Linked DNA regions of Homo sapiens: regions 1, 3, 4, 5, 6 and 7 are each linked to region 2. The links are contacts of gene promoters, found by promoter capture Hi-C in human tissues and cell types (Jung and others, 2019). All regions are on one chromosome and are shown on one strand. Each heading gives the region's core, a stretch centred on a gene start or on the middle of the fragment in contact. The rest is flanking DNA. Distances are from core to core; before and after follow the strand shown. Region 1 overlaps SUGCT (succinyl-CoA:glutarate-CoA transferase). Region 2 holds the start of INHBA (inhibin subunit beta A). Region 3 has its middle 25 kb from the start of LINC01449. Region 4 overlaps SUGCT (succinyl-CoA:glutarate-CoA transferase). Region 5 has its middle 49 kb from the start of LINC01450. Region 6 overlaps SUGCT (succinyl-CoA:glutarate-CoA transferase). Region 7 has its middle 73 kb from the start of LINC01450.

Region 1 (3,756 bases), core at 857-3,356, 840 kb after region 2:
CATCTGATTCCCCAGACTATACCTGGGCTTAGCAGTCTTGAGCAACAATTTATCCTGGAACATACGTCCTAATCATTTCTCACCTACTGGACACAGGTGTTTTTTATACTTTATATCCATTGAAATACTCAATGCTAAGGCATGATCTAGTCTTCAACAGTGGATGCTCAGATTACAAAGCAATGTCTTCCTGTCATTCTTTTATCTGTCATGATGTATAAATTATTTAACACCTGGATAGTCATTTAAGAACCTGTTTAATTCATTTAAAAACCCTGTTGCATTTTCACTTGGCTCAAAATAAGGTACCAAGTGTAAAACCACTTCTCACCTACCTGTGCAGACAGATACCTACATCTCTAAATGCACTGGGAATATTGACTTTCTGCCACATAGCATAAAATCACCAGAGAAATACAACATAAAGCAAATATTTACCCCCACAGGGGAGAATGGAGCTCAGTTTTATAATGGACATCCGCAAAGTCTATGGTTTAAATTAGAGACTAACAAAGGGTTCAAGAGCTCAGAATTAAGTTATTCTGTATAAAATCAATCACAGAGACTGTCATTCTGCTTATTGCTTTGACTCCCTAACACAAATTTAAATGCAGATTTTATGTACAAGTAGAAAGTATCAAGAGAGCTGCTCTTTTTCAGGCCTGTATGGACGGGGCGGGGGGTCTGGTGAGGGCATGGGGGGTAAGGGGCAAACGTTTAGGACATTAATGTAAGTAGAATAAGGAGTGCATTTTTCCAGGAAAAAAATTAAAACTTTATTTTTAAAAATCCCACAAATCCATAATGAAATCATCATCTGAAAAAAAAGATGGTAGGGAACAAAACGTGGGATACATTTAAAAGGCACTAGATTCATTAATACCAGAGCCATTCTGGAGATGCCATGTAAGAAATCTGGAGTTACTCTAAATCTTCTTTTTAGTGGTATCAGAACTGGGGAGAAGGGTCCAAGCAAAGTGTTGCCTTTGCCAGTGTATTCGGATCGAGGTTATGAGGAAGAGCCCTTTTCCTTTGTCAGTGAGTTTCATGTTGGTCCACCACTCCAGCGCTGAGCAGCTCCCCGATGGCCCTGTCATCGTATCTCAGGACCTCCTTCAGGATGTGCGTTGTGTGCTGCCCGAGCAGCGGGGGCGGCCTGGCCTCTGACATCTTGAACTTACTGTATCTCACAGCTGGGCCTGCCAAAGGAGAAGGAAAGCAGGAAGCCTGTTAATGACTAACCCTACGAAATTAATTACCTAAGCAGCCTGGGGTGTTTTCCATGAATGCCAAAAATATCAATGAGTGCCAGTTACACCCTTCCAGATGCATCAACGTTTTGGAAATAAACGTGTTTTCACATGTGGCTTTTCTTGACTCAGGTTCATCCAAATGTGCAGTGCTCATCTGACTCGCTCATCACCATGCAGTGGGGCTGCATGGATGAAGCTAATTTGTGCCGGGCCTATTTGGAAGCTGGTGTTCCCGTCATGAAGACTCAGAGGTAGGGCACTCAACTGAGTGAACTCTAGGTAGGAAAGAACAGTGACCACAGAAACGTAGTGTCTCTCTGAAGCTGGAAATTTGATCCCAGGTGAAAGCAACCCAGCAGCTGACTACTCAATGTCTACTGTGTAGTTCCAAGGTTTAGTTCAACTGACTGCAGATCACCGAAACCTCAGCTAGACCCTGGTTCAAGGCTTTTGGTGGTAGAAGAAGTTATGTGTGCAGGCTTCACTGTCAGAGAGACTTAGGCTTTGCTCTCCGCTCTTATGCTCTCTAGCAGAGCCATCTTGGATGAATTGCTGAACTTCACACCATAATCTGGATGTGATAATGTTTACTATACAGACTTCAGGTAAGGATTTAATTGAGATCATAGACAGAAAGCACTAAGTAAGCATTCCCTAACCCATGCTAATGCACAAAACTTGTTGGTTACTATGATTACAAAAGCTGCCACAACATCTCTCTTGAAGCTTATAGTGTAAGGGGAAAAGGGGTGCCGGGCACAAAGTTCCTCTAAACAGAGTTGAGCAATGCTTTTAAGAACTGTTGGAAATAGATTTTACTATCCCCATTCTTCCCATGAGGACATGAAAACCCCTAAAACCTAAAGTTTTGCTCAAGGCCACATAGCTAATCATAGGGCCTGGATGAAAATCTGTGTCCGCTGGAACTGTCTCCCATTAAAGGCCATGAACTTTCCATAACATCAGCAGCCACTTCTGACTTCTCACTCTTCCACGGAGAGGCTGGACACTGGGGAACATGTTGTTTCAACTAATTTTACCTTTGTTATCACATTCAGTAAGTGGTATTTATGTTGGCTGTCCTTTATGTCTCATTTGATTAGGCTTCAGGAGAACAAATGATATAGTAGTCACAAGAAGACTTGATAAAACAGGATATTCCTATCTCAATTTTTTTTTCTGGCTTTCTCTTGATTTGAGGAGCCCATAGGAAGAACAAATAAAACCAAAGCATGAGTGGGTAAAAGAATGCCCATCAGTAAAGCAGCAAACGAGCTTTGAGCTCTTTGGAGAATTCCATTAATAAAAGTACTTTTGCACTTGCCACTGTTGACAGAGATGGAGGACTTGGGTCTCCTAACACCGTCAAGCTGCACCTTTGTGTAACACATCTAATCCACTACAGAGGGACAACTTTCAACTGATGCCTACAGTTTTTCCTTCTCTGAAGCTTAGTGACATTCATCGTTTTCTTCTCACATTTTCTTTTAAATGCCCCAGTGCATGACTACCTTTTCAAGGGTTTGTCCCTTTTCAGTAAGAGAGAAATCAACTATAGCAGACACTGGGAGGCAGGGTCCACAGCTCTCCCAAGAATGACAATAATGTGATGGTTTAGGCATCTGACCCTTACTCATTGCTCTCTCCAACTCTGTTCCATTTTGATATTAATTAAAAACAGTTTTAATCTAAAACCCGTCTATCAAAAGAAGAACTGCTTGAAGCAATATATGCCTCCTGAAGTCAATGTCATGTGACTTTACTCCACTTGAATTACCTGAAGCAAGACAGTAGTAGTAATAGCTATCATAGTCCAGCTACCATTTCTTTTCTTTTTTTTTTTTTTTTTTTTTTTTTTGAGATGGAATTTTGCTCTTGTTGCCCAGGCTGGAGTGCAATGGCATGATCTTGGCTCACCACAACCTCCGCCTCCCAGATTCAAGGAATTCTCCTGCCTCAGCCTCCCCAGTAGCTGGGATTACAGGCATGCACCACCATGCCCGGCTAATTTTGTATTTTTAGTAGAGACGGGGTTTCTCCACGTTGGTCAGGCTGGCCCAGCTACCATTTCTTAAGAACTTGTGATGCGTCAACCACTGCACCAAAGGCTTTATGTATTAATACAACATTGCATACAGTTCTCACAACGGTCCTGTCGTTTGGGTAGACTGTCAGTCATCTTTATTTCCAGATTAGGACATTGAAGGAAATGGAGGTTTAAATGTTAAAGTTAGGATTAAGGTTAGGAAATTAAAATAACTTGCCCAAATTCACACAGCTAGAAAATGATAGAGTTAGATTCCAATTTCACGTCTGTTGGGTTCAACAACTTGGATTAAAAAATAATAATAATTTATTGAGATAAAACTTAACATAACATAAAATTAACCATTTTAAAGTGATCAAGCAGCTTCTCCTCATTCCTCCCAAATCCAGGCAACCATTAATCTACTTTTTGTCCCTATGGATTTATCTATTCTGGCTACTCCTTATAAATAGCATC
Region 2 (3,467 bases), core at 174-2,673:
TTCTCAGCAAAAAGGGTGGAGAAGTTTCTTTCTTATAAAGGGTTTGAGTTCACCCAGTGCTAAGCTGAGGGGCAGGTTTGGAGTTCACCATCATTAATCCTATTTCTGTCTTCGCCACTCAGATTCACTCTCTTCCTCTACAACCTAATGATTTTTTTCCTACTTCATTTCTGCATATGCAGTTCTTAGAATACTCCTTCCCCCCACCCCCATGCAGCTCAGCACCCACACTTTCTCTGTATCTAGCCAAGAGAGACCCTTTTACACAGAAAACTTCTGGTGTCCTAATGGAACCTGCTTAAGCCACACATCAGGAGGCCAGAGCCTCTATATTTTGCTTGTGGGCACAGTGAAAAGTTTATTTTATGCATGTTAAATCCTGCATACAAAACAACATATCTGGTCATATGGCTCTCATTAGCTCCCAATTTTGCACATTTTATCCAACTTGTCATGAGAACTGGGCTTATGCTTCAACTGTAGTCCTTCAAACAACCCTTCACCGTTCTTGTCAGAGGACCCCTTCCTCCTGTGTTATTTACCAGACTTGCCAACACCCCTCCCCCACAAAAAAAGCCTGACCAGCTTTACCCCTATTTCAAGGAGTGTTCACTTCTTTTCATTAATCTGCTGTTATATTTGTAACAATTTAGAAATTATAGGAGTTGAAGTTCTGGTAAAAAAGAATGATGCATGAGGGTTTTTGTTGTTGTTGTTGTTGTGTGTGTGTGTGTGTGTGTGTGTGTTTGGTTAGTTAGAATGAGATTCTAAAGACCTGGGAAGGATACTTATGAAGTTCATTTAAAGAGAATTACTATTTCCAAAGTTCTTGATTTATGAAGCAGGCATTCAATTTCAAGATGTAAAATAATAGTGTAAGTTGGTTGGGGTCGGGGGAGACCATCATCATATGATTATACAGATTTTCCCAATTTTTTTCCTCAATGAAATAGCTTATTTTAAAAATATAAAATTAGAATCCCTATAAAGAACACTACCAATTTTCTTTCCTGAAAGAAACAATAAAATACTTTGTAAATAGAAGCAACTTCATGAAGTAACAGATGTTTTATGTAAAGACATAAAACTGAACCTGAATATAACGAGACGTGTGTGCGAGTAGTAAAAGTTGAAAGTTGGACACACTCATTGAGACATATCTATTTGATTCCAATGTTTTTCTAAAAGGTAGAGTAATCCTAGCCAGAGGTTTCACTGGCTCAGTGCATCACCCAGTAGTGTCTCAGAAGCCAGGAAGGGCTTTCCATTAGATAATGAATTATGAAATGTCTCACACTGGAAAAACCAGTCATCCGCTGATGTCATGCTGATTCCAACCAATCCCAAACAAAGCCCCAGCCCTCCTCTGTTTCAGTGGTACCAATGTGTGGTGTACAAATAAGTAGTACAGTATAAAACTTCACAGTGCCAATACCATGAAGAGGAGCTCAGACAGCTCTTACCACATGATACAAGAGCCGGCTGGTGGAAGAGTGGGGACCAGAAAGGTAATGCTTTTTAACTCTTACTTCTGAGCTCTTTACACATTCAAAGATAGGAAAGCTAGGAGGAATTTTACAACTAATTGGCATTTCCAATGTGCATTGTGATGTGTACCTTTTTATATTATTCAGGCAGGTTAATACAGCTTTTAATAGTCCTAGAGCATGCAAATAGATTATATGTTTATACAAGCCACTCAGCACATATATACAAGTACATATGCCAAAGAGAAAGCTATTTTTAAGAGTTACATTCGCAAACAGTAAATTCAGGGAACACACACATACTCAGATGCAGAGAGAATCCAAATATTGATAAGTTGCACTTATCTAAATGCTGCTATTAGGACTCCTGAGTTGTTTAGAGCCATTAAACTTTTGGTTGTATTTCAGACTTTCTTGTAAAACTTAATTGAACTGCAAAACATTTTGGGTACTGTATATGTGACTCCAAATAGGTGGATGATGTTAAGTATTATAGCACAAAGATTTTTTATAAAACCATTGTAACACAAATGTCCCCTGCCTCCCCCATTCTCTTTCACCATCCCCGTAAAAAATATGAGGCTTTTTAGGCAATGTTGACAAAGTTTTAACAATAATGGTGGAGTAATTGATGTTTCTGGAGCTGAAACCCCAAAGGTGTTAGGTTACTTGTAACAGAAAAAGTCTTACAAATAGTTGTTTTGGAAAAGGGGACAGTATATATAATTCAGAAAGCATTGTTAACCTGTGCAAACTGTAATTATAACTTAGTGTCACAATTTTCTTGCCCTCTTCCCCTTGCACTCAGATCTTATCTTGTAGTAATGATATTTATTAACTCTTTCCACCTAAACTGCATTGCTTGACTGTAATGCTATGAACACACTAGGTGTCAGATATAAGCTGAGTGTATCTTCAGAAACCAAGAGGGCTTATGTGTGGGAAAGAAACCGAGAGGGAAGGAACGCTTTAACAGATGGACCCCTTAAAGATTCTTCTGCAAGATAAAAGCAATAAGACAGAAAATGAAAAAGAGGGGAGGGGGAAGAATTTTTTTTAAGCCTTAGAAAGGCATTGTTAAAAAATTCACATTTTTCTTTTTCTGTGCACACTAAAATCCATGATGATTTCATCTGCACTGTTCCTTTGAGGGAAAAAGAAGCAGTCAAGGAGGCTGTCTATGAATGCACTGGTCGGGACAGGCTTGGGGCAAGCTGAAAAAACTACCACATGACAGAGAAAAATAATTTGCCAATATATTTTAGAGAGTCTTTTCCCATAGGACCAGTTATTCAAGTCATACGAGTGCACTCTTTTTATAAAAGGATGTGGGAAAGGCCAAGAGAATTTTGCATTTTATCTGTGAAGTCCGGCGAGTGGTGGTAGGCTGTAATGTGTGAGAGTGAGTGGGTCCCCGGCAGAAGGGGGCAGCTGAACGCGACGGGGAGAAAGCGCTTCTGGAACTTGGGCTTGTGACAGGCTGCCTGCCCTCTGGTCCTTCAGTGCCCTGCTGCATTTCACAGTTGGGAAGAGTGGAGTGTATTATATGACCCCAAACAAAAGTTCCATTGCGCTCTCCTCAGATTGCCTGCCAGTGTTGATGACCTGAACATTTAAATATGAATGAATTGGGGGAAAGGACCATCTCCCCTGGATCCCATCAGGCCAGAACAATCCTCTGTTACCCCTGAGTCCCTCTTCCCTGACCTCCACTACCTGTCCACTGGACCTCCCTGCACCCTCTGCCCCACCACGTGGCCAGGTGGGCGTTCTACCACCTAGGGCTGTGGCTTGGCTGGGTGGAGGGGCGGTGGGAACACTTTTTCAATCAATTCATCCCTATTGATTGAGACACTGTGTTTGTTTGGGGTTTCTTTTCTCCCCTCCAAAAAAGGAAGAAGGTGAAACCAGGAGACTGGGCAGAGAAAGAAAAAAAAATAGTGAACAAAATTAGGATAATTTATTTTAGAAGAGAAAGTA
Region 3 (3,515 bases), core at 169-2,668, 630 kb after region 2:
GGTATCATGGTGTCGGGCACACAGAAAAGGAGAGAACCTGATCGATCGATAGGAGAGACATGATAAAGAGGACAGCATCCTTCTCTGATCTCTTTGCTGATAGGAAATGCAACACAGTGGCACCCAGGTTCTGCTCCAGCAAGTCAGTTCCATACACCAGCTCAGGAAAGGGAGTGCAGAGGCAAAGGGCACACTGCTCTCAGGTTCAGCGAAGTCCAGTTTCATCGCTCTGTGCCATGAAGAGGTGTTTATGCCAGCTGGAGTCATTTTTCCCTGGAGTTCCTGAGGATGCTTGAGATCCCTTCCTTTTTTTTTTCTCTCTCTCTCTCTTTTTTTAAGTTTGTTTAATAATAAAAAAAAAGTAAAAACCTGTATATGGTTTTTTAAGAAAATCAAGCCCAGAAAGTTAGCTATTAAATAACTGTAAGTGCCCCATATTCCAGAACCCAACTTTTATTCTTCAACTGCAGGTAACTACAACCAATAATTTTTTTGTATCCAGAAATAATCAAGTGTGTGTGGTGTTCAGCATGCATACCTATAGCATAGCAATGGTTAACAGTGCAGGATGTGGAGTTAGACTGCCTGGTTTTGAATCCTCATACACCACTTACTAGGACTCTGGGCAAATTACTCTGACTTTCTGGGTCACAGGGCCTGTTGATAATACCTATCTTTTAGAGTTGTTAAGAGTCAATGCATGTAAAGTGTTTAAAATAGTACCTGGCACATAGTAACAATTGAGTAAATGCTGAGTATTATTATTTTATTATTCATATAATTGTTTATGTATAACTGCATTTTAAAACTTATACAAACACAAATTAAGCATGCTGTTTTTAACTTATACTTTTTTCCATCAAATTAAACTGCTATGAGATTTTTCTCATGTAAACACAGATCTGCCTCATTCTTTTTTAAATAGCTTTATATATTTAAAATTATTGTATATACGTATGTTTTAAAAATTCAGCTAGATTCCTATTGGCTGACATTTGGACATTTCCTGTCTTTTTTTTTTTTATAGAAAATGCTTGGAAAATTTTTCTTAATGTATCTTAATAATAAATTTCTGGCAGTGGGATTGCATGGTCAAATAATATGTTTTTTGAATTACTTTTTTATTTTTAGCATTTAAAATTTTAATCTATTTGGAATTATTTTTGATACACTGTAAGGCGAAGATCCCAGCCTTCTTTTTGTGTAGATTAATGGCCAATTAAGCCAATATTATTTATTAAATAAAGGATTTTTCCTCACTGAATTGAAAGCCTATTTTTTATATATTAAATTCTGAATCTGTTTTAAATCTTTATTCTGTTTCAATTATATACATTGTTAATATTGTACACCATTTCCATCAAATCTCAAATTCACCAAATGGTAAACACATTTCAATTTCTATAGGAGTTTTATAGAAATGTGTATTATGGAAATGCAGCATCAATATACAACTCTCATTTCCCCATACTCTCCTCTCAGCTCTGAATATCATTAATGATTTTAAATTATTTTTGCAAATCTACTAGATGGAAAGTCATTTCTTATTTTTTCATTTGAATATTTTAATCTAAAGTAGATTTGAAGAGGTTTTTGCATATTCTTTTGCTATTTGTTTCACTGTTTCTATCAGGTTGTATTTTTTCATATATATGTTTTAAATGTTCTTTCTATTTCAAGTCAACAATGAGTGCTTTAATATTTTTTAAGATTTTGTCTTTTAATTTTATTTTTCATATTTTTACTATATGTTAATTTTAACTTTATTGTTCAGTCGTTTCCTTGATAGGGTCGTGATTTGGATATCTGCTTATAAAGATTTTTTGCACTCCTGTACACACATGTACACACATATTGACACAAACATTTCCTTGTCTTCTAGGTCTTTTGTAAATTTGTTTTTAGGTGTACATATTTTTAAAGAACTGAAATTTATTTTGGTATAAGACCTCACAGGTATTCACAAATATTTCATTTATGTTTCAAATGTCTAACCAGTTGTCAACATTATTTATTGACTATTTTATCTTTTCAATACTGATTTACAATACCAGAATTATTAAGTACTAAAATGCACATTTTTACATAATCTACTCGAGTACAAAAATGTATGGTTATGATAACTTCATGATATGGTCAATGTCCGATTTGACTGACACTATCTTGTTGCTCTTATTCTGCATAATTTTGAGCATTGGATTTTTCCAGATGAAGTTTAATATTACTTTCTTAATTTTCGTAGCAGAAAAAATACAAGCTAAGCTGTGAGCAATTTAGATAAATAAAATTGTATATTTGGGGTGTTAAGATTATTAAAATGAGTAGTCCTGCCTTTTTCTAAACTCTTGCGTCCTCTTTATGGATTTTGCATCTTCTATTCCCTCTGCCTGGAATGCTTTTCCCCCTGGTAGCCACCTGGCTTGCATCCTCACTTCCTTTGGTCAGAACTTTAAATATCACCTGTCACTGAGGTCTTCCCTTACCAGCCCCCGGCCATGCTGTTTAAAAAAACAAAACAAAACAAAACAAAACAAAAAACACCTTTATCCAACTCTTCAGTCCTATCAATCTGTCTTCTTGCTTTACATCTCCCCATAGCACTGAACACCATAACATATGATGTATTTTTTAGTTTGTAGACTGTCTGTCTCCCCTCACTAGGTCCCCCTCCATGAGGCCAGGGACTTTTGTCTATTTTGTTCACTACTCCCTGAGACCTAGAATGGTGTTTTTTATGCAATAGGCCCTCAATAAATATTTTCTGAGTGACTGAATGAATAAATGAAGGAATCTTCAAGATCAAGCATTCCGATCCAAGATATAATCTGGTTTAGCATTTTAGTTTTCTTTCACGTCCTTTATATTAATATATAAGTAGTTTACATTTAAAAGTGTGTCATTCCTATTTTTCTATTGCAGAGGAAACCTGTTTTCCTGGTCTATTTTTTAACTGGATATTGTTTATACAAAGAAAGGGTATCGATTTTTTTATTTTAATTTTGTAACTAGCTTCTGATTAAAGATCATTCTTTCTAATAACTTTTTAGTTAGTTTTCTTCAGTTTTCTAGGTTTTCAAAATTAGGTTACGCAAATAATGATAATTTTTTGCATATGCATTTCAATTATTATACCTTATTTAGAAGTGTTCCTTAATTACATTGCCTGGTATTTGCAGAACAATGTTAACTATAGTAGTTATAAAAGGCATCTTTCGCTTAATCTTTAGTACAAATATTTCTGTGTGTTTCATCATTGTAATAACTTTTTATTTCCTGTTTTGCACATATACAAATATACGCATATATACACACATGCACACAAAATGCCACAGAAGTATCTATTGAATTCTATGTCAGTTTTTAAAAAAAAACAAATTAGCAATGGTTGTTGAATTTTATTAAATTATGTTTTGATATATTTGAAATGAATATGTTTTCAATTTTTTAACCTATTTATATGATGAATTACATGATTTGTTAATAACAAATCATCTTTGGGTTTCTGAGGAAAACCT
Region 4 (3,900 bases), core at 1,365-3,864, 910 kb after region 2:
AAATCCTTTGTCAGAATTGCCCTGACCCACTTTATACTTTGTTCATATCCCAGTCAACCCTGGCCTTACCCTGCCTTGCTCTTTGGACATTCAGCTTTCAGATTGTGCCTGGCTTCTCCTCAGGGACCTGCCTTGTCTCATCTCGGGCTGACCTTCACTAACTGTCATCCACTCTTTTGGGCACTGCCTCAGGGCCAAATTTCTGGAGCTATCAGTTGGCTCCAAACTTTCACTGGTCTAGATTAACAGCATAAAGTCAAATATTTTCTCCACAATATCTAAGACATAAAAAGATGCAACCTGTAGCCACACCTGATATAGAAGGCAATATAGCTTAGTGATGAAGACCAGGGTGTGATATCAGAAAAAGTTGGGTTCAAATCTCTGGTCTGCTATGTATGATATAAAATCTCAAACAAGTTACTTTAGTTCTCTAAGCCTCACTTATAAAACAGGAATGATGATGGAAGCTGCCTCCTAGCTTTCGGGGTCCCGATGTGATAATACAATCATATATGGCCAGTGCTTAACCTGGTACCTAACAGAGAATAAAAGCTCAATATTCCTCCTTCTTCTCTTCCTTCTCCTTTTCCTCATCATCGTTAATTCTCTAATATGCTTCTTGTTAGTATGAAGTCTACCAAGTTGCCATCCTCCCAAGCATCTTCTCAGAAATGTCCAGGTCACTCTCTAGCTTTCAGTCAGAAGTTCTCTCCTTACCATATCAGTGTTCTCATCCCTTTTGAATACCTTTGCATATAATCACTTGTTTTCATGGATTGATGACTAAATGGGACACCAACACTCAGATCCCCAACCCAATACTCATCTCGTTTCCTACTTCTAGATGCTATTAGACATCTTTTACTGACTATTTAGTGGGCTCAACACACTGTGTGGTTTTTTTTTCCTGAAAGGTATTTGTTGTACACAGACAAACAGAGAAAAGGAAATTCTGAAAGGAAAGAACTTTGAGGTCTAGGATCCAAATGGGTTATTATAAACAATTGAGAGTGTTTAAAAAGAAAGAAAGAAAAAGAAACATTTAAAAGAGGTCAAGAAAGTACCTCCACAGAACCCTTTTCATTTATATTATTTCAAGTAAAAGATCACATATTCAAAATGTTCCTATTAATTTTCATATGCTGCATTCTCTCAGCATGTTTGACCATTTCACTTCATAATGTTTTGGCACAAAAATGTAAATAACATTGCACTTCACCTTCCCAAGTTCCCATAGTCCATTTTCCGTAATAGGGGGAAGAATACACTAACAGTCAGAAACTATGCACATTCTGCTGGTTGAAATCCAAAAGTAGTTTTTTTTTAGTTTTCTGTCACAACTTGTTCTTGGGAGTTTGCTCCTTGCCAACTAGAAACTATGATTTTCAAGAGAATACAAGCCCTCTTAACAATCAGACAGGATTATTATATCTCTGTGTCGATGCGGATTGAAGCCCCACAAAAGCATCAATTTTTGACTTCAGTTCAAGATATGGAACCCCTGCTTTTCTACTTAAGATTTTATTTTTCTTGAAGAACTTCTAGAAGTTCTTTTTCGTGAAGATTTTATTTTGAAGAACTTCTGGAACATTCCTATTTAGCTGTTTTTAGGAGAGAAGCCAACTTTCATTTATTTGGTGAAAGAAGATGGGCTTTAAACACATTTCAATTTGAGGATGGGGTCCTACTGGAAATAGTTTTGCAAGTAGCTATTTACAAAATGTTTCATTGTGGTAATAAAGAGAAAGGGAGTGTGAGGAGAACTGGGTTCTTGTCTTGGCTCTCTGCTAACTACCTCTATGGCTTTGGGGAAGTCATTTTATGTCTAAGCCAGCTTTCTTTCAGTGCACCTCTGGGAAGACAGGGGTATAAGTTATCCTACTCTCAAAGATGCTTGAGCCCACTGGTGTATTATACATCATGCAATTTATTCAAGAAGGAAATCTGTAAGTTTGCTTAACCCAGTGTTTCCCAAGCTTATTTTATCATGTAACTACAATTAGTGTTCTATGGAACATTTACTTTGGGAAGCGCTATTCCAGGTGTATATTTACTCACCAGAAATATATTAGCATATTGAAAAAGATGTTTATTAAAATTCCCATAAATTCTTGTATTATCTGATTGCTCAAAATGTCTGTGGCATGAAATAAAAATTGAAGAATGAAGTTGTTTTTCTTAAGTTTTAAAAAGAACACAAAACTTCTATTTATGGAAATATGGTGGACTAACTATCCTGAAAATATCTTCTCGACGCAGGACATTAAAAAAATGTTAGGATACAGATTTAAAATATTTTAAATGTATGGCTACATTGATAAAAAATAAATAAAAAATCTTTCCGGAAGGCAGGAGGAGAGTGGGGAGGATCCAGTACACACAGCAAATGGTAAAATATTAAATGAGTTCCGAAGCTAGCAGCTTCCCCAGGAGCATCTGTCAATACTTTCTGACTTATAGCTGTGGTATAAATGACCACAGGAAGAACAGAAAACCTAGCTTAAGGGTTGTACAAGATGAGGAGTCATATTTGTGATCCCTCCATAAAGCTGGGCTTCCCAAAATGTTATAACCTCAGTGAAATGGTGAACTATAAATAAAATACATCTCATGGAACAATGGCAAGAACCCTGACACAGCATGGAGGGTGATAAAATAATTTCCTTGAGAATTTAACCATAAGTCAGACCTCATACAGATTTATAGCCTGAATTCACACCACTTTGAGAGTAACAAACATTATAAGGTGAAATGTAGCTAAAAAAGTTGTTAGTTTGAAGTATCATAGGTGTCTATCAGAAACAAACACGAAGGAATATGCTCTTGAGCTGGACCTCAAAGAATTCTGACAGGTAAAGTTCCAAGGAACAAAACATATTAAACATACCTGGAAATAAATTACCATGAACTAGAGAAAGCAAAACAAATAAATGAAAGAATCAGATCCTTAAATAGTTCAGCTATTAGATTATCAAATCCAACATATAAACGTTTTAAAAAGGAAGAATCAAAGTTATAAGAAAAAAAATCACTCTATAAGAATAACATGTGAAAACATAACTTTTAGAAATAAGTAAATCATTAATTTAAAAACTCAATGGAAAGGTTAAACAGTATAGATACAGATGAAGAGACATTTAGCAAACTGCAAACAGCAGATTAGATACAGCTGAAGAGACATTAAGTGAACTGCCAAACAGAACTGAAGATAATAATCAGACTTTAAAAATATGAAAGTTAAAAGACATGAAAGATAAAGTAATCAGGGTTAACATACAGCTAACTGGAGTTCTAGAAGGAGAAAAGAGACTATCAACATTTGAAGAATCTTCCAGAACTGTTGACAGACATGACTTCTCAGATTCAAAAAGTCAAACAAATTATAAACAAGATAATAAAAATATAAATAAATCCATACCTAGATACATCTTACATTTTTAGTAAAACTGCAAAAACAAAACTAACAAGTAAACAATAACAGCAAAAAATAAAGTCCAAGACAAAAATTTAAATTTAAAAGTCGAAGGAGAAAGAGAAAAGATTACCTATGAAGTAACAACAGTTAGAACGCTGACTTCTCAACAGCAAGAATGCAGCCACAAGCATAGATGTTACTAGTCAATGCAAATAGTCTTGTATAATATCCTATAACTATGAAAACAAAGTAAAAAGTATCAGAAGCTGACCAATGAAATGACTAACTAGAGAAAGAATGTCATTAAAATTAAGAGTAATCACTCATCATTTCTGAAGTGCAGTCTCTAGGGACAGGAGTAGTGAGCTTGGCTGACTATTTACCACATCAAAGACGCAAATTCCAATTTTTGTTGCCACCCCTCCATTCCACCTCTTCTGCAAACCCAGAGATGTGTGCCTTAGAAAATCAACCAGAAATTC
Region 5 (3,973 bases), core at 955-3,454, 770 kb after region 2:
ACAAAGAAGGCCATTACATAATGGTAAAGGGATCAATGCAACAAGAAGAGCTAACTGTCCTAAATATATACACACCCAATATAGGAGCACCCAGATTCATAAAGCAAGTCCTTAGAGACCTACAAAGAGACTTAGACTCCCACACAATAATAATGGGAGACTTTAACACTCCACTGTCAGTATTAGACGGATCAATGAGACAGAAGGTTAACAAAGATATCCAGGACTTGAACTCAGCTCTGCACCAAGCGGACCTAATAGACAACTACAGAACTCTCCAACCAAAATCAATAGAACATACATTCGTCTCAGCACCGCACTGCACTTATTCCAAAATTGACCACATAGTTGGAAGTAAAGCACTCCTCAGCAAATGTAAAAGAACAAAAATCACAACAAACTGTCTCTCAGGCCACAGAGCAATCAAATTAGAACTCAGGATTAAGAAACTCACTCAAAACGACACAACTACATGGAAACTGAACAACCTGCTCCTGAATGACTACTGGGTAAATAACGAAATGAAGGCAGAAATAAAGATGTTCTTTGAAACCAGTGAGAACAAAGACACAATGTACCAGAATCTCTGAGACACATTTAAAGCAGCGTGTAGAGGGAAATTTATAGCACTAAATGTCCACAAGAGAAAGCAGGAAAGATCTAAAATTGACATCCTAACATTACAATGAAAAGAACTAGAGAAGCAAGAGCAAACACATTCAAAAGCTAGCAGAAGGCAAGAAACAACTAAGATCAGAACAGAACTGAAGGAGATAGAGACACAAAAAAACCCTTCAAAAAATCAATGAATCCAGGAGCTGGTTTTTTGAAAAGATCAACAAAATTGATAGACTGCTAGCAAGACTAATAAGGAATAAAAGAGAGAAGAATCAAATAGATGCAATAAAAAATGATAAAGCAGATATCACCACTGATCCCACAGAAATACAAACCACCATCAGAGAATACTATAAAGACCTCTATGCAAATAAACTAGAAAATCTAGAAGAAATGGATAAATTCCTGGACATGTACACCCTCCCAAGACTAAACCAGGAAGAAGTTGAATCTCTGAATAGACCAATAACAGGCTGTGAAATTGAGGCAATAATTAATAGCCTATCAACCAAAAAAAGTCCAGGACCAGACAGATTTACAGCCGAATTCTAGCAAAACTACAAAGAGGAGATGGTACCATTCCTTCTGAAACTATTCCAATCAATAGAAAAAGAGGGAATCCTTCCTAACTCATTTTATGAGGCCAGCATCATCCTGATACCAAAGCCGGGCAGAGATACAACAAAAAAAGAGAATTTTAGACCAATATCTCTGATGAACATTGATGTGAAAATCCTCAATAAAATACTGGCAAACTGAATCCAGCAGCACATCAAAAAGCTTATCCACCACAATCAAGTCAGTTTTATCCCTGGGATGCAAGGCTGGTTCAACATATGTAAATCAATAAATGTAATCCATCATATAAACAGAACCAATGATAATAACCACATGATTATCTTAATAGATGCAGAAAAGGCCTTTGACAAAATTCAACTGCCCTTCATGCTAAAAACTCTCAATAAAGTAGGTATGGATGGAATGTATCTCAAAACAATAAGAGCTATTTATGACAAACCCACAGCCAGTATCATACTGAATGGCCAAAAACTGGAAGCATTCCCTTTGAAAACTGGCACAAGACAGGGATGCCCTCTCTCACCACTCCTATTCAACAGAGTGTTGGAAGTTCTGGCCTGGGTAATCAGGCAAGAGAAAGAAATAAAGTGCATTCATTTAGGAAAAGAGGAAGTCAAATCGTCCCTGTTTGCAAGTGACATGATTGTATATTTAGAAAACTCCATCATCTCAGCCCAAAATCTCCTTAAGCTGATAAGCAACTTCAGCAAAGTCTCAGGATACAAAATCAATGTGCAAAAATCACAGGCATTCCTATACACCAATAACAGACAAACAGAGAGCCAAATCATGAGTGAGCTCCCATTCACAATTGCTTCAAAGAGAATAAAATATCTAGGAATCCAACTTACAAGGGATGTGAAGGACCTCTTCAAGGAGAACTACAAACCACTGCTCAACAAAATAAAAGAGGACACAAACAAATGGAAGAACACTCCATGCTCATGGATAGGAAGAATCAATATCATGGAAATGGCCATACTGCCCAAGGTAATTTATAGATTCAATGCCATCCCCATCAAGCTACCAATGACTTTCTTCACAGAATTGGAAAAAACTACTTTAAAGTTCATATAGAACCAAAAAAGAGCCTGCATAGCCAAGACAATCCTAAGCAAAAACAACAAAGCTGGAGGCATCACGCTACTTAACTTCAAACAATACTATAAGGCTACAGTAACCAAAACAGCATGGTACTGGTATCAAAACAGATATACAGACCAATGGAACAGAACAGAGGCCTCAGAAATAACACCACTCATCTACAACTGTCTGTTCTTTGACAAACCTGACAAAAACAAGAAATGGGGAAAGGATTCCCTATTTAATAAATGGTGCTGGGAAAACTGGCTAGCCATATGTAGAAAGCTGAAACTGGTACCCTTCTTTACACCTTATACAAAAATTAATTCAAGATGGATTAAAGACTTAAATGTTAGACCTAAAACCATAAAAACACTAGAAGAAAACCTAGGCAATACCATTCAGGACATAGGCATGGGCAAGGACTTCATGACTAAAACACCAAAAGCAATGGCAACAAAAGCCAAAATTGACAAATGGGATCTAATTAAACTAAAGAGCTTCTGCACAGCAAAAGAAACTACCATCAGAGTGAATAGGCAACCTACAGAATGGGAGAAAATTTTTGCAATCTACCCATCTGACAAAGGGCTAATATCCAGAATCTACAAAGAACTTAAACAAATTTACAAGAAAAAACAAACAACCTCATCAAAAAGTGGGTGAAGGATATGAACAGACAGTTCTCAAAAGAAGACATTTATGCAGCCAAGAGACACATGAAAAAATGCTCATCATCACTGGTCATGAGAGAAATGCAAATCAGAACCACAGTGAGATACCATCTCACACCAGTTAGAATGGCAATCATTAAAAAGTCAGGAAACAGATGCTGGAAAGGGTGTGGAGAAATAGTGACACTTTTACACTGTTGGTGGGAGTGTAAATTAGTTCTACCATTGTGGAAGACAGTGAGGCGATTCCTCAAGGATCTAGAACTAGAAATACCATTTGACCCAGCGATCCCATTACTGGGTATATACCCAAAGGGTTATAAATCATGCTTCTATAAAGACACATGCACACGTGTGTTTATTGCGGCATTATTCACAACAGCAAAGACTTGGAACCAACCCAAGTGCCTATCAATGATAGACTGGATTAAGAAAATGTGGCACATATACACCATGGAATACTATGGAGCCATAAAAAAGAATGAGTTCATGTCCCTTGCAGAGACATGGATGAAGCTGGAAACCATCATTCTCAGCAAACTATCACAAGGACAGAAAACCAAACACCGCATGTTCTCACTCATAGGTGGGAATTGAACAATGAGAACAGGGTGGGTAACATCACACACCGGGGCCTGTCAGGGGGTGGCGGGCTGGGGGAAGGATAGCATTAAGAGAAATACCTAACGTAAATGACAAGTTGATGGGTGCAGAAAACCAACATGGCACATGTATACCTATGTAACAAACTTGCACATTGTGCACATGTACCCTAGAACTTAAAGTACAATTTTAGATAGGAAGAAAGAAAGAAAAAGAAAAAGGAAAAAGTAGAGTTTTGCCGGGCAGGGTGGCTCATGCCTGTAATCCCAGCACTTTGGGAGGCCAAGGTGGGCGGAGCACAAGGTCAAGAGATCAAGACCATCCTGGCCAACATGGTGAAATCCCAGTCTCTACTGAAAATACAAAAATTAGCTGGTCATGGTGGTGCGTGCCTGTAGTCCCAGCTATTCAGGAGG
Region 6 (3,461 bases), core at 702-3,201, 940 kb after region 2:
CTCACTGTGTCTTATTTGACTGGTCACTGTCACATGCCCCATTACACAGTGCTTCTTGTCAGCCAGGACTTGGCACAGAGTAAACACTGGATAAACATTTGTTAAACGAAAGGATGATTTGTTTTATGTTATTTCTTAGAGAAACATGCGTGATTGTTTCAAGGTTTAATGGTTGAAAAATTAATGATGTGGCTAGTTTTATTTTTCCCCAAGACTACTTGTTACTGTAGATGAAGCTACGAGTTTATTAACTATCTATACTGTGTTTCCACTTAATCCTTCTATGTGCTGAGCACTGGACATTTATTATTATTTAATTATTATAAGTTGCAGTGAGTATTTGGTCTTCCTGTCACAGATAAGAAAGCTGCCACTGAAATACGTGAGACAGCCTGTCAATGATCTCCAAACATAAATTGCAAAACCAGGCTTTGAGCTCAGGTCTCGGTGACTAAGCCTACATGCTCTCCATTCTAGCCTATTTTGTATGCACACCACACATGCATTCTACATGTACACATGAAAACATCATAGAAGTTAATTAATATTTTTATGAATCATATTTTTGTTGTAGCTGAAAATGTATATAGCATGAAATTTACCATTTTGACCATTTTTAAGCGTACACTTTAGTGGCACTAAGTACATTCACATTGTTGTGCAACTATTATGCCATCCATCTCCAGAACTTTGTCATCTTCCCAAAGTGAAACTCTGTATTCTGTAAACACTAACTGGCCATACCCCTCTCCCTCCAGCCCCTGACAATCACTATTCTACTTTCTGTGTCTATGACCTTGACTACTCTAAGTACCTTATATGGAATCACGCAGTATTTGTCACTAATTTACTTTTAAACTTTTCTGGCCATAGTATCAACCACATGCTTGGGGAAGAAAAATCATCTTAACTCTATTATACCAACACAACATTGTTTGCAGTTTAATTAATGCTGCTCTGAGGAATCAGGCTGTAACTTTGAAATAAAACCAGCCCCAGGTCAGCAAGAGGAAATTTGCCCACACAGCACCATGGCCACAGAGATCACTGGAAAGACAAAAATTCTGGGTGATTCCAGGAGGCAGCTTAATATCTTGGGTCTTTTGATGATTGAAATCTGCATATATATCCCAAACATATCTCCTTTATTCCCCTTCCAAACAGCATTTCTGTTAATGTGTGAAAACAGTACAACTAGCGGGAAATGTAGTCCACATGTTTTGGTGCATTTACACTTATATACTCTTGAGAATATTAAAATGGCCTAACAATACATTTTCTGATGGCTGCTGCTGCTTTTTTTTTTAATAGAAACACAATTACAGACTTTGTTAAAAAAACAAAAACAACAACAACAAAAAAACCCACGTAATCCCAAAATAGGTAATCCCAAAACAGGTAATCCCAAAATAGGCTGAATCTAACTTTAAATTCTTAAAATGTAAATATTATTTAAATAAATGTCAACTGATCTTCAAATAAAACATTTAAAATATATCCAGCAGTCTTTAAATTAGAGACTAATGTAAGTAAGGTAAAAAAAAAAACTCAATAGTTGGTTCAACTTCCCTTTTTGGCTCAACTTTAGGAGATAATAGTAAATAGAGAAAAGAGGACAGATTAAAGATACACCCAGAGCTGGGTTTGAATTGCAACACTAACATTGGTTGGTATAGCAACATTAAGCAAATCTCTATTTTCTTATCTGTAAAATGGACATAGTAATATGGTTTACTGAATTGTCCCAGAGAAGAAACAAATGGTGTATATAAAGTATTCATATATATACCATATATAGACAAGTATTAAGCAGATGTTTATTTACTTACATTCCCTCCTCTCAAATTTGAATGCTCCACAGCAATTATGCCATTAAAACCTATTCACAAAATATAGTTAAATGCAGCACAGTGAATTGCATTTTTCCATTAAATTAAAAGGATGAAAAGACTAATCCCATTAGAACAAGAAAACAAGGCACTAGAAGCTGAGGTCAGTTATTTAAGGTCACACATGAACTTGAAGGCCCAGCAACAAAGAGAAAGCAGAATTAGTCTCTGTTGCAGATATTCTTTAAGTCTACGGAGGGTAGTGCTTCTTTAGTTTTTGTGGCTGCAGCATCTTCTTGGTACTTTTATTTGACCACATCCACGCCTCAAATGCCCAAAATGTCCTGCTATTAATTTTTTTCATTTTTAATTTGATTAAAATTTGGTTTTTGCTTAACTGTTTGAAATGCTTACGGCTTCTTGAAATAACCCAGGATTTAGAGCTCTTAGGAACATTTCAAACAGACACAAGGGTTGTAAGCAGATTAGACTAATTGGCAACCCACTCCAAGAGGCACACAGCCCATTCTGACTTACACAATGTTCAGATAAAGGGCAAATTAGGGAAGCATTTCAAGGTCCCTCGGGCCCCCCTTCCTATGTGGTATTAGAACATCTTACTCAAAGGAGGAACACTGAGACATGCTGACTGTTAATGCCATACCCAGATAAAGATATGACAACATGAAGATGTGGTTTCATTAAAGCTGATACATACAGGACAAATAAGATTCGCTCCAGCTGAGGAGAGAAGCAATAAGGCCCACATACCTAGCTCAGTGCCCCCAAATCCTGAAGGTTTGGGGATGATATGAAAAATGGGATATGATACATTTCCTATTGATTATAGTAAGGTATCTGAAGGTTTTTCTTTAACCCCTTTACTACCATTTCTTTATCTCCACCAACATCTTTTTAATATTATCATAACATTGTATGCTTAGTCAAAATTAAACTACAATCATTTTAAATAAAAAGGTGGCTTGCTCCATCTGGCTTAGTAAAGATAAATATTTTATCTAAGTCTTCTTAATCAGAATACTTCTTGACATCTTAAAGACTGATCATTAAAAAAAAAATTCCATGAAATTCAGCCCAATTTATCTCTTCATGCACCAAGAAGTCCCTTCTTGGTAATGCTGAAGGAAAGCAAAGCCACTCCTCTTTGAGAAAGGATTAAAATGACTCCCTGTCCAACCATGAATAAACCCAACCATAAAGCCAAGCAACTCACTCCTAGCTGAAGCCACTTGGAGGCAAAGATAATGTCACTTCTTGATTCTCCAAGTTAACGCCATGATACTGAAGTCCAAACTGGTAGATAATTTTAAAACTTTTGTATTTAGCTATTGTAAGATATTTGTTTTTACTTCTCTAATCAGTTTACATGTCTAATTAAATTTGATTAATTTATTCCCTAAATGCTTATCGTAAAGTCAGTACTTAAAGTTGATCCAGAAAGACTTTTTTGTGCACTCAGTGAAGGTTGGCTGCAGCTAATATACCAGGAACGCAATCAAGAACTGATGAAAATTTCTGATACATCTTCTGACACAATAGCAAAAACGGTATACCATCATTTAGCCTTTTACTCTTCCTGTGGCTTTTTATTTTTCTTTTGATTTCTATATT
Region 7 (4,049 bases), core at 28-2,527, 800 kb after region 2:
AGGGCTGTATCAAAGCCTATGCAAATGTTAAAGCTTATGATATATTTGGCCAAATTGCTCTTTGAATTATTTCTAATGTTGCCTTTCTTTCCTCATACTTTTTAAACATTGTGTGTTATTAATTTTAAAAATATTTCCATTTGATAGAATAAAGTGGTATATTATTAAGTTTTAATTTGTATGTCTTTGATTTCTAGTAAACTTCATCTACTTGTGGTCCTTTTTTTTTTTTTTTTTTGAGACAGAGTCTCGCTCTGTGCCCCAGGTTGGAATGCAGTGGCGTGATCTCAGCTCACTGCAAGCTCCACCTCCCAGGTTCACACCATTCTCCTGCCTCAGCTTCCTGAGTAGCTGGGACTACAGGCACCCGCCACCACGCCCAGCTAATTTTTTGTATTTTTTTTTTAGTAGAGATGGGGTTTCACCGTGTTAGCCAGAATGGTCTCGATCTCCTGACCTCGTGATCCGCCTGCCTCAGCCTCCCAAAGTGCCGGGGTTACAGGTTGCGAGCCACCGCACCCGGCCGGTCCATACTTTTAAATGGCTGTCCTGGTGATGCCTTTCCAATTTTTCTGTTAGGTTGAGGTTGGATGTGAGTATTTTTCTTACCAATCTGCATATACATCTTACAAAAAAAAAACTAGATAATTACTTTTAAACATTGTAAGTAATGAAACTGGATCCTTATTTACTAATGTTTAGAATTAAAAGGTGAGTATTGACTCCCCTCATAAGATAAATAAATTAATAAACTTTTCTTGTTACAATATCTCAATTTTGGTGAGGATGATGTCAAACTTATCTTAGATTACAGCTGTATAATGCAGTGTGTCTCAGGCATTGTCAACGGCCTTGCCTCATCTTTATGCAATTCTGAGTTAAAGATCCCTCCAGAATTAACAGAGTGGTTAAGCGAACAGGCTGTGATGTTAAACAAATCTGGATTCAAGGCCTTTCTGTAACTTGCTAACCATGTGATATTAGGCAATATACTTAATCTCAGTTTCAGTTTTTTCAGCTGTGAAATGGGAAGAGTAATAACACCTACTTCATAGGGTCTTTTGTGAGCGTTAGATGAGGCAATGCATATAAAACCAGTAACAGTTAAATGTTAACTACATTTAGGCACTGCTTTACAAGGCTAGCGCCTGACAGAATGATAACTCAGTAAGTGTTGGCTATATTAAACGAGTATTATTATACCTGTTATTTATGGGCCTTGCCTTGCAATTAGAATCAGGAATTCAAAGCCCAGGAAGGTAAAAACTAGATTACACACCACCCCTTATAGAATTATGTTTCAGGGATGTTGATTTCTGTCTGGGAATATGACACATAACACAGTAGTGGGTGAGCTCAGTCAGGACATTGATACTGCATTTCTGAGCTAAGAAAGAGTTTAGAAGTCAGTGAAGTTCATGATTCTGAGGCAGAAACCCAAGTCCCCACTCAATCTTCTCTCTCTCTCTCTCTCTCTCTCACACACACACACACACACACACACACACACACACACACACACACTATCAGAACAAATATTTCTCCTAACAAGTATAACCTACTTCCATCTTCCTACCCTGAACTGAAGCCCCATCCTATTATGGAGACAAAGAAGCACCAGCTAAGCTCATGACTCTTAACAACAGCACCTCCTTGAGTCTCTGGGAGGCCAGCAATGCTTGAAGGAATGCTCCCTCTCTGGGAAGATTTGTTATTTGGTTTGTCAACTCTAAGTTATAGAGCGTTCTTAAAAATTATAATTCCCATCTATTTCCTATGCAGCAATCAATGTGCTTATTCTACTTCTCCTCTCTCCTTTCTCCCAGTTTTTAAAGTTGTATTATTATATAGGCATGGTATCCATGGGATATCGGTTCCAGGACAACACCTCCCATATCAAATTCCAAGGATGTTCGAGTCCTTTATATAAAACGGCTTAGTATTTGCATATAACCTACGCACATCCTCTTGCATATTTTAAATCACCTCTAGACTACTTATAGTACCTAACACAGTGTAAATGCTGTGTAAACAGTCATTATACTCTATTGTTTTTATTTGTATTTTTTTATTGTTGCATTTAAAAAATATTTTCTATCTGTAGTTGTTTTAATCTGAAGATGTGGAACCCACAGATATGGAGGGCCCACATACTTGTCAGGACAATAAAAAATTACACATTATTTTTCTACCGTTGTTCCTACGTTTATTTTAGTTTGGGATCCATAATTAAATATATCCAAGACTCACTATTAGTCCTTTGGCCAATGTTTCCCCAGTTCTCTCTGATTTGGATGAAGCTTTTCTCCTTGAATAGTTCTGTGGAAAGAAAGTTTCAGAGTACAGGATCACCTGAGTTGTGCATGCTCAATTCTGTTGAGGGATAGCATTGGTTCATAAGCTCCTTGGATCAAATCCTTGAGTTTATCAAAAATGTTCTCCACCACGGTCTTTACTGTTGAGAAGTTTGATGCAAAAAAAAAAACAAAAAACAAAAACAAAAAACAGCTCTGGAAATGGATGGTGATGATGGTTGCACAACAGTATGAATGCAGTTAATACCGCTGAATTATACACTTAAAAATGGTTAAAATGATGGCAGGGTGCAGTGGCTCATGCCTGTAATCCCAGCACTTTGGGAGGCCAAGGCGGAAGTGCAAAGATCACTTGAGGCCAAGAGTTTGAGACCAGCGTGGGCAACATAGTGAGGCCCCATCTCTACAAAAAATTTAAAAATTAGCCAGTGTGGTGGCATGTGCCTGGGGTCCCAACTACTTGGGAGGCTGAGACAGGAAGATCATTTGAGCCCAGGAATTTGAGGCTGCAATGAACTATGATCGCACCACTGCAGTCCTCCAGCCTGAGTAACAAAGTGAGATCCTGCCTCTAAAGAAAAAAAAAAAAGAAAAAAAAAATTTAAAATGGTAAATTTTTTGTCATGTGTATTCTACCACAACAATTTTTTTTCAAGGCACCTATTAGATGCCAGGAAATGTTCTAGACCCTGAGTACACAGTAGTGAATGAGAGAGACCGATATTTGGCCACTGTGAAATTTGCCATTCAGAGGGAAATGTAGAAAATAAATGGCGTTATATGAATGAGACACAGTGCAGTGTAGTGATAAAAAACTTGAACTGGGAGGAAATACATTTCTGTTGTTTTAAAACAAAAAACCTACAAATATCATAATTAATATTAGTTATGCTTGCTCTATTTCCTTTTATCATCTCTTTTCATTAATATTTACTTGTTCTGCTTTTTTGTGAGAAAACATAAATTCTTCAGGTTGTAATCAAAAGAGAGAATGTTTTAAGTCAATGAGAAAATCACTCTTAAGATACACATATTGTTCAGAATCGTCTTCTCACAACCAAGGGTTTCTTGCTGCTTGGAAATGGCAGGTAAGTCATTTTTATGAACCAAATGATTCAAGTAAAAAGATTTACTCAATACGAATAGTTTATTTATTTGTTGGAGATATGTATCAAAGTTCTCAAACAACTATGAGTGATTCCATCACAGAAAATGCTCGAAAATTGTTATCCTATTAGAGGTTTCTTCAGAATTGAACATCTCACTCCATGAGTTAACCATGTTATAGAGATTTTACTTGAAAGTAATGAAACTATTTACCACACTAAAAATGCCATCCGCCACTTGTTTTCAGGCAAACTTGGCTCATATGATAAAACTAGAATGTTTTAGACATCTTGTACTAAATCTGGATATTGGTGTTATCAAAGTAGAAAGTGAAAGAATAGGAAGTTAACTATGTGTTTTGAAAAAGGGATTGTTTTACACACACATATATACATATACATATATGTGTGTATACTTACTTCCCTAAACCTAAATCTCCATCCTCTACCTGAAGGCAATAATATATGTCTTCAGCTTCTAAATATTTTTATTGCAACAAAATATACTTAACATGTATCATCTCAACCATTTTAAGTGGCATCAAGTACATTCACATTGCTGTGCAAACATCATCACCATCCATCTCCAGAAGATTTTCATATTCTCACAATGAAACTCTGTCCCTGT

The links. The method cuts DNA at HindIII sites, captures the fragments that hold promoters and counts their contacts. A contact is called where the count stands out against the background at its distance.
Region 1: a contact is called between a fragment that was not itself captured here and the fragment with the promoter of INHBA in region 2, in 4 of the 25 tissues and cell types used here (IMR-90 fibroblasts, heart left ventricle, lymphoblastoid cells and 1 more).
Region 3: a fragment that was not itself captured here is called in contact with the fragment with the promoter of INHBA in region 2 in 1 of the 25 tissues and cell types used here (lymphoblastoid cells).
Region 4: a fragment that was not itself captured here is called in contact with the fragment with the promoter of INHBA in region 2 in 1 of the 25 tissues and cell types used here (lymphoblastoid cells).
Region 5: a fragment that was not itself captured here is called in contact with the fragment with the promoter of INHBA in region 2 in 1 of the 25 tissues and cell types used here (mesenchymal stem cells).
Region 6: a contact is called between a fragment that was not itself captured here and the fragment with the promoter of INHBA in region 2, in 2 of the 25 tissues and cell types used here (dorsolateral prefrontal cortex and lymphoblastoid cells).
Region 7: a contact is called between a fragment that was not itself captured here and the fragment with the promoter of INHBA in region 2, in 2 of the 25 tissues and cell types used here (lymphoblastoid cells and mesenchymal stem cells).

The regions. Positions count from the first base shown.
Region 1 is chr7:40,857,759-40,861,514 of GRCh38, reverse strand. SUGCT (succinyl-CoA:glutarate-CoA transferase) reads right to left here. Exons shown (of 14, transcript NM_001193313.2): 14 at 752-1,199. The coding sequence ends at 1,036. It overlaps LOC105375242 (a long non-coding RNA gene), which reads left to right. Exons shown (of 3, transcript XR_927191.3): 3 at 1,383-3,084. Among named protein-coding and RNA genes, the nearest start is that of LINC01450, 120 kb to the left of the region's middle. The HindIII fragment of the contact is 4,060 bases long and covers 77-3,756 here.
Region 2 is chr7:41,701,046-41,704,512 of GRCh38, reverse strand. INHBA (inhibin subunit beta A) reads left to right here and starts at 1,423. Exons shown (of 3, transcript NM_002192.4): 1 at 1,423-1,508. The region is part of intron 1 of INHBA-AS1 (INHBA antisense RNA 1); the gene reads right to left. The HindIII fragment of the contact is 9,174 bases long and covers 1-3,467 here.
Region 3 is chr7:41,074,793-41,078,307 of GRCh38, reverse strand. No RefSeq gene overlaps it. Among named protein-coding and RNA genes, the nearest start is that of LINC01449, 25 kb to the left of the region's middle. The HindIII fragment of the contact is 9,838 bases long and covers 1-3,515 here.
Region 4 is chr7:40,793,150-40,797,049 of GRCh38, reverse strand. The region is part of intron 13 of SUGCT (succinyl-CoA:glutarate-CoA transferase); the gene reads right to left. Among named protein-coding and RNA genes, the nearest start is that of LINC01450, 180 kb to the left of the region's middle. The HindIII fragment of the contact is 4,719 bases long and covers 255-3,900 here.
Region 5 is chr7:40,928,719-40,932,691 of GRCh38, reverse strand. It overlaps a transcript of SUGCT not described here. Among named protein-coding and RNA genes, the nearest start is that of LINC01450, 49 kb to the left of the region's middle. The HindIII fragment of the contact is 4,629 bases long and covers 1-3,973 here.
Region 6 is chr7:40,757,729-40,761,189 of GRCh38, reverse strand. The region is part of intron 13 of SUGCT (succinyl-CoA:glutarate-CoA transferase); the gene reads right to left. Among named protein-coding and RNA genes, the nearest start is that of SUGCT-AS1, 210 kb to the right of the region's middle. The HindIII fragment of the contact is 9,992 bases long and covers 1-3,461 here.
Region 7 is chr7:40,904,572-40,908,620 of GRCh38, reverse strand. It overlaps a transcript of SUGCT not described here. Among named protein-coding and RNA genes, the nearest start is that of LINC01450, 73 kb to the left of the region's middle. The HindIII fragment of the contact is 4,375 bases long and covers 1-3,464 here.